Linked DNA regions of Homo sapiens: region 2 is linked to region 1. Evidence: promoter capture Hi-C in 16 types of primary human blood cells and fetal thymus (Javierre and others, 2016). All regions are on one chromosome and are shown on one strand. Each heading gives the region's core, a stretch centred on a gene start or on the middle of the fragment in contact. The rest is flanking DNA. Distances are from core to core; before and after follow the strand shown.

What was found. The method cuts DNA at HindIII sites, captures the fragments that hold promoters and counts their contacts. A CHiCAGO score of 5 or more calls a contact.
Region 2: a contact is called between a fragment that was not itself captured here and the fragment with the promoter of GNB4 in region 1, in 1 of 17 cell types (total B cells). The highest score is 6.3, in total B cells.

The regions. Positions count from the first base shown.
Region 1 is chr3:179,449,312-179,453,476 of GRCh38, forward strand. GNB4 (G protein subunit beta 4) reads right to left here and starts at 2,159. Exons shown (of 10, transcript NM_021629.4): 1 at 2,035-2,159. It also overlaps the pseudogene RPL29P34. RefSeq lists silencers at 1,730-2,139, 2,180-2,329. The HindIII fragment of the contact is 16,902 bases long and covers 1-4,165 here.
Region 2 is chr3:179,342,268-179,346,432 of GRCh38, forward strand. No RefSeq gene overlaps it. Among named protein-coding and RNA genes, the nearest start is that of MFN1, 3.4 kb to the right of the region's middle. The HindIII fragment of the contact is 2,685 bases long and covers 958-3,642 here.

The sequences.
Region 1 (4,165 bases), core at 909-3,408:
CAAGACATTTAACTAGGAGTAGAGTGGTGAGAAGAGAATGGCTGATGTGAGAAGCTGTATAAAAACATGGGACAGACAATAATGATCATGCTGGAAAAACAAACATGCTTCTGGCATGTCTTGGATATTTTACACACATGCTAATGAGTAATTGAGGGTCACTCCTCATGCCCTCGAACTAAGTTAATATGGCTCAGGGGAAAGAACATGGACTTTGGAAACAGAGGGGTCTTGCTTCGAATCCCAGTTGAGTTACCTAACACCTACATGACCACTGCCAAGTTACTTAAAACCTCACAGACAATTTCCTTACCTGTGGAAGTAGATAATGGTGTTACTGTGAGATATAAGTAGAATAACTTACAGCACTGCCCCAGCCCAGAAGAGATATTTTAATAAATAAGTCCATAACAGACGCAGATTAAAATAGTCAGCAAGGTAAAGAAACTGATGATACAGCCAGCTGACTTCAATAACATGCCTAAGAGAAATCACACCATCTCAGGCAGTATTTGGTAAGGCCAGAAGAATGTCCAACACTTAGTTCCAATTCTTAATTTTCAAATTGCCCCAGAGTCTATTTTTAAAGTGTAAAAGTATGTGCTGACATACTTACATGCCAATTGTTTAAAAGAAACAATTCTACAGGTTAACAAAGGCCAAAGACTCGGAATAACTTCCTAAATAATGTTTATGGGCCCACAAAGAGTTGAACCAACCTAAAATATCACAAGCTGTATCAATCAGTTTTATAAATGTATATACAGAGGGTTGACAACGTTCAATAAGATGATATTTTAAAAGTTTCTATTTCAGTTTCAAATTCATCTACAAACCAAAATGCAACATGGAAAATCTTAAAATGTCTTTAAGCCACATACTGAAATATACAGTAAATTTTCAGAGCCTAGGATCAGTAGTAAACCAAAAGCCCCAAACTGAAGAGTATTAAAATGAACAATGGCAGAGACTCGAAGCACACAATTTTGAATGCACCTAATCAGCCGTCCTCCTCTCCGACTAGAAATAACTTCCCTCCCATCTTAAATTAAGTAGCGTGTGTTCTGTCTCTGTCCTAGAAGATGTACTTAATGGTCATAAACTCTGTTTGCAACACTGAGACGGACTCATAATAAAAGTTCTAATCAACAATTAAATTTTGAACGTTTTAAGAAAACTTCCCGCTAAGCCACACGCCAAGCTACTTTGTCGGTGGCTGAGAGGGAGAAAGATGCATCCTTATCCTTTATGGAAAGAGAAAGGGAAGGAGTGGGAGAAAAGGGAACACAAGGAGACGAAAAATAACAAAGTATTGCTTGTATAAACAAATGAAAGCCTGGTTTCAAACTTTTGAAAATTCAACGTTCCCTTAGCGAATAGCAATACATATCAAAGTATATGGCAATCATCTGTGTTCTGAAGCAGAAAAAGGTGGAGAGAAAAGCAAAACACTTTTTATTGTACTGAACTCACAAGTATTCAAAATTCATCAATCCCCTCCCATCCCCAAACTCTGGACATTATATCATTTCCAAAATAAATCTGAAACAAAACCATTGGACTAATTTTGGACTCAGCGTAGAACTTTTATGAGTCTTCCAAGCACTCTCCACCCAACAGCCCTGCTGGGCAGTCCCGAATACCCGTTATTTTGGGGGCACGCACGGGCTCGTGCTCTGAGTTCCTGGAAGGAGGCCTCGGGGAGTGACGAGAAACCAGGGGGGTCTGCAGGACTTGGACCGCCGACCGTTCCTCGCTCCCCGGGGCGAGCGGTCTGGACCGCCCGGGAAGTGCCTGCGCCGGCGGTCGTGGGGCCAGTTCCCGCGTGGCAGCTGGGCGCGACACAGGCGCGCCCTCCTCGTCCCTCCCGGGCAGCGTCGGCCGCCCGAGCCCGGGGAGACCCGCCCCGCCCCGCGCCGTCACCCGGGCCCCGTTCCGCAGGGGTGGCTCGCGGCGCCCCACGTCCCTGCGAGAAGCCCGGGATCGCTTCGCGGGGCGCACCGACGAGCCGCCGCTCGCGAGCTCGCCGCCTACCTGGAGGGAGCTCAGGCCCGCGTCGACCGCGCGCTGCCGGTGTCCGCTGGGCGCTCAGCAGCCCCTGGAGCGCGGAGCCGGCGTGGAGAGCGCAGCTCACAGCCGAGACCAGAGCCGCCGGCCACACCCAGTCCCGCACCTCCCAGCAGCCAACTCCGCGGCGCGCCGGAGCCGGGGCGGGGACGTGGCTGGAGGCGCGAGGCGCGAGGCACGAGGCGCGCGGGCCCGGCGGGGACGTGCCGGGGACGCGCAGACCCTCGGAGCGCGCGCAGCCCGGGCGGGGGGCGAAGGGAGCGGGCGCCGCGCGCAGCTTCTGCTTCCTATTTTCTCTCTCGTTTCCTGCCAGAAGGAGAAGAAAAACATTCATTCCCGGGCAGTTTCGTTTTCTTGTTGGTGTGGCGCCGGGGCACGCTGCTAAGTAGCGCCCGTCTAAGTGGCGTGGCCAGTTTCCTTTCCGGCGCTGACAGGCGCCAGTTTGCTTGTTAGCAGGATCGAAGGGCAGAGCTAGAAGACCCCAAAGGCCCCATTTAGGTTTCCCATTCTGGAATTCTAAATGTCAGAAAGTAAACTGAAGCCCAGAGTTGCACAACCTTGCGTTGCAGTCCCCGCTCTTCCATCACTAGTTGTAGGACCGTGTACCGTCTCGGGCCTAAGTTTCGTCATCGCCAAAATAAAGATACTGATACCTGCCTCATAAAGGTGCTAAGCATATTAAATGAAGTGATGTTTGCACGAAGCCTGCCTCCAAATAAATGGCCAATACTTGGAAGTTATTGTTCCTATTGTCATTGATAAAACTGGAAGGCCTTCCAGATATCCCTGCCAAGTCGCTCTTCTCTGCATGAGTTAAACACCACATGCATCTCAATCGAGTTTTTTTTTTTTTCACATTTATCTGGGTGTTTTATGTTTAAAATGTCATAAAATAAATGCATCTATCCAATTTGCTTCCTCTGAAGTCAGTACCGCCTGGGAGCATTTTTCCTCTCCCCACCCCCATTTTTCTTCTGAGTTAATTCCAGTTTGACAGACTGTTGCTATAGCATTCCTTCTCTGACGTCAAACAATTTAAAGAAACAGCCCTGGGTAGCGAAAACTGCAGAGGAGTTCTTTGTGGAGTTTCTGTGCCGGAGAAATGTTCGAACAATATCATCAGATAACTTTAACAACCCCTCAGCCTTCCAATCCTCCTTCTGTAGCTGCTTCCCACTATCACCTGGAATAAATCTATTAGTCCCTTGAAAGAGGTGATGCCATGATAAACACACCCTGTTTGTGACTGTGGGGAAAATGTGACCGTTTTGTATAAAAGCCAGGCCGTGACAAAAATAGAAGCAGCTGTTTCTATTTTCTTTATCCACAGATAAAGAAACTGTGGATAATTTTTCCCCCAAAATTTTCATTTTTACTAATATTAGGAGCATTTTTCCATTAAGAAGAAAGAAATGCCAAATATTCTGCATATCAAAGTGTCAGAAGAGCTCGTTGGGACATGAGTGTTTTGCATCTGTAACTATTTATGTTTTAATGATTAAATCCTGAGTTTTATGATTGTCGTTTTTCGGAGGAAGCAAAGGGAAATTGTTAAAGAGTGCCTATTACGGACCATGCTCTCTGCTTTCTTATACTGTACTTAATCCTCATAATTACCTTGAAGTGTGAATTTTATCCCCATTTTACAGATAAGCAAACTGATGCCCTGGTAAGATTAATTTATCGGAGTCACGAAGGTATTGGTAGAGCCCTGCATGACATCAGATTGGATCAACTCCAAAGCCCACATTCTTTCTTTTTTTTGTTTGTTTTTTTGTTTTGAGACGGAGTCACTGTGCAGTGATGTGATGTCAGCTCACTGCAACCTCCACCTCCAGGATTCAAGCGATTCTCGTGTCTCAGCCTCCCAAGTCTGGGATTACAGGCACAAGCCACCACGCCCGGCTGATTTTTTGTATTTTTAGTAGACACGGGGTTTCACCGTGTTGACCAGGCTGGTCTCAATCTGCTGACCTCAGGTGATCCGCCCACCTCGGCCTCCCAAAGTGCTGGAATTACAGGCGTGAGCCACCGATCCCGGCCCCATATTCTTTCTTTAGATTCTTTTCTGCCTTGTTCCTGTGCACTAGCATTTACC
Region 2 (4,165 bases), core at 1,050-3,549, 110 kb before region 1:
GGTGAAACCCCGTCTCTACTAAAAATACAAAAAAAAAAAAAAAAAAATAGCCGGGCATGGTGGCGGGCGCCTGTAGTCCCAGCTACTCGGGAGGCTGAGGCAGGAGAATGGTGTGAACCCGAACCCGGGAGGCAGAGCTTGCAGTGAGCAGAGATAGCGCCACTGCAGTCCAGCCTGGGTGAAAGAACAAGACTCTGTCTCAAAAAAAAAAAAAAAAAAATTAAAATAAAATTAGCCAGGTATGGTGGTGTGTGCCTGTAGTCCCAGCTACTTGGGAGGCTGAGGTGAAAGGATTGCTTGAGCTCAGGAGTTCAAGGCTGCAGTGAGCTATTATTGATCATGCCACTGCACTTCAGCCTGGGCAGACAGAGTGAGACCCTGTCTCTAATAATAATAATAACAATAATTGTATATGGTATGTAGTTTTTACTTTCATCATTGTAAATTACGTGGTATAAAATTTAATTGGCATAACACTTGGATTCACGAATATTTTTACTTAGGAAAAAATTAACTTTTTAAGAAAAGCAAATTGGTGAAAAATATGAAGTAAATAATAATAGTCATACATGGATATGGAAAAAATTGGGTAGGTGATACATGAATGACTGAAATTGGAGAATACAGAATTCTAGACAAAACTGCTTGTTTATACTTCAGAAAAATGATCTTCTAACATCATTAGTCAAATGCTTTTTAAGGTAGAATAAACATGACAAACTCCCAACCACTCTTCAAATAATTTTCTTTAAAGTTAAAATGTGCTCTGTGTTTTTTATGGAATGTCATACCAACACTTAGAGAAAATAACATATTAAAAAATAAAGGACAAAAGCATATGACTCTGATTTGTAATCCCTGTTCAGTAGTAATAAATTGTGTGACTATGACCATGAACAGTAGATGTAATGTTACTAAGTTTTTCTTAGTCCATGGGTTCTGCAACTCCTTAAAACAAGCTTGTCCAACCCACGGCCCAACACAAATTTGTAAACTTTCTTAAAATGTTATGAGATTTATTTGCAATTTTTTGTTTTGTTTTGTTTTCGAGCTCATCAGCTATTGTTAGTGTATTTTATGTGTGACCAAAGACAATGCTTCGTCCAGTGTGGCCCAGGGAAGCCAAAAGATTGGACACCCCCTTCCTTAAAAACTTTTTTTTTTTTTAACCTTAAAAACTTCCATTTTTACAGGCTGGGCGTGGTGGCTCACGCCTGTAATTCCAACACTTTGGGAGGCTGAGAGGCAGGTGGATCACCTGAGGTCAGGAGTTCGAGACCAGCCTGGCCAGCATGGTGAAACCCTGTCTCTACACAAATAGAAAAATTAGCCAAGCATGGTGGCGGATGCCTGTAATCCCAGCTACTTGGGAGGCTGAGGCAGGAGAATCACTTGAATCCGGGAGGTGGAGGTTTCAGTGAGCCTAGATCGTGCCATTGCACTCCAGCCTGGGCAACTGAGCGAGACTCCTCAAAAAAACAAAACAAAACAAAAAGACTATTTTACTATGCTTCTATTTAACTAACAGCTATGGAATATCTACTATCAAGCCAAGTGCTCAGGAATACAAAGATAAACTATGGTTCTTGACCTCAAAGAGATTTACCATATAATGCAGGAAACTGTCACCTTTCTGAACTACAATTCAATTAAATATCAAATTGACTTTCATGTATCCAAGTATTTGCCTTTTGTATAATGCTACCTACCATACACGTTCTTGTCAGTTTTTTATATACTTGTGATTCAGTACTTCCAAAATATATGCAGAATGACTAAAGTTTATACTCCCATCAGCAAGATCATGTTTCCGCACAGGCTTATCAACAATATCATACAACTTTTAAATTTCCTGTAAATCTTAAGGTCATAAAGTAGTACATTATTATTGTTTAAATTTGCATAATCTGATTACTAACAAGGTTGAGACTATCTAATATGCTTATTAGTCATTTTAACTTTCATTTTGTGAACTGCTTCTCCCTATCCTTTGTCTGCTTTTCTGTTGGGTTTTCTGCTCTATTTTCCGAAGTTCTTTATTTTTAACTATTGATTTTTGTTGGCAATATATACTGCAAAAAATAGATTTCCTATGTGTCTGTTATGGATGACTTTTTTGAACAGAAATCCTTAAATTTAATGTAATAGATTCATCACATTTTCCCTTTACATTGTACCTCCTGTCTGTTAATTTTACAAAATTCTCTCCAACTAAAATGTCCCCAAATTATTTTCCTACGTTTTTTCCTAATTTTCTGGTTTTACTTTTCTTTTTTTTTTTTTTTTGAGACGGAGTCTTGCTCTGTCGCCCCGGTTGGAGTGCAGTGGTGAGATCTCGGCTCACTGCAAGCTCCGCCTCCGGCATTCACGCCATTCTCCTGCCTCAGCCTCCCGAGTAGCTGGGACTACAGGCGCCCGCCACCACAACCGACTAATTTTTTTGTATTTTTAGTAGAGACGAGGTTTCACCGGATTAGCCAGGATGGTCTCGATCTCCTCACCTCGTGATCCGCCCGCCTCGGCCTCCCAAAGTACTGGGATTACAGGCTTGAGCCACCGCGCCCGGCCTGGTTTTACTTTTCATGTTCAGGTCTTATACCCATCTGAATTTGTATATAGATATGATTCAAACTTTATTTTTGTTAATTAAATTGAACCAATTTCTCCAATGTGATAAAATAATTTATCTTACCCAGTGATTCATAATACCAATTTTATCATATACCAACTCCCCATGGACATAATTAGCATGTAAATCTGTGTCTTACACAATTACATTCCATCGTTTGTTCCTCCAAGAGTATCACATACTTTAATAGTAACAACATGCTTTAAATATTAAGAGTTGGGTAAGTATAGGCAGAGAACAAGGGAAATAAAGAGAAATGGTTGATAATTTAAAAAATAATAAATATTAGAGCTTTGCTTATAGCAAATAAAAAATAAATGTTAGGACTTATTATAAATATTAAACTTTAGCAAGTACTTCTTCTGCATGTATTGAGATAAATGTGGGTTTCCTCCTTTGGTCTGTCAGTATTATGGATTATATTGATTTCTGTTTGATGATTTCTGTATTCCTAGGAAAACCCTACTTGGATAAAAAAATAATTCTAATACAACGTTGGCCTCAGGTAGCTAATATTTCCTATGTTTGCCTCTGTAGTCCATAAGTGTGAATTTTTTTTTTTTTTTTTTCTGGAGACTGAGTCTTGCTCTTTCGCCCAGGCTGGAGTGCAGTAGCGTGATGTTGGCTCACTGAAACCTCCGCCTCCCGGATTCAAGTGATTCTCCTGCCTCTCCCTCTGGAGTAGCTGAGACTACAGGCACCTGCCACCACGCCTGGCTAATTTTTGTGTTTTTTATTAGAGACAAGGTTTCACCATATTGGACAGGCTGGTCTCGAACTCCTGACCTCATGATCCACACGCCTCATGATCCAAACTGCTGGGATTACAGGCGTGAGCCATCGCACCCGGCAAGATTAATCTTTTCGTTAAACATGTAATAGAAAGTTACCCCGAAAATCATCTAGACCTGGCTAGTTTTGAATATGTGGGAAACTTAGCCTATTCGAGTTTTCTATTTTTTCTCGGTCTAATTTTGGTATTTGATGTTTTCCCAGATTTTATACTTCATCTAAGCTTTTCAATTTGTTGGCATTTATATATATATCTATAGTTATTCTCCCCTTAATTTGTGTCCTTTCATTTTTTATGTTCTTGAACAGATTTGGCAGTGATACATCAAATTGATAATTTCTTTCAAATAACGTTAGTTTTTGTTAATATCTATGTTGGTTTTAGCGTTTATATTTTAATTCTTTTCCTTCTTTGTGTTTACTCTCCTGGCTTTTTGGTAATATGTGTGTTCCACACACACACAAAAGCAATGGATTAAATTTCTTATTACTTACTATATTAAACATTTAATTACCGTGCTATAATTTATAGCCTGTAATATGTCACTCTTGCTTTAAAATGCAGTAATTATATTAAATATAATTATTAAGTACAGAACTAATAAAAGGATACCATCATGATTTTTAAAATTCAAACAGAGTAAATGTTCCCTTTGAGACTACCTATGCTCAGAACTGATGGATTAGCTGGCACGACCCAGACCGATAAACTGGCTCATCTGACCTAGTGTCCCCCAACCCAGG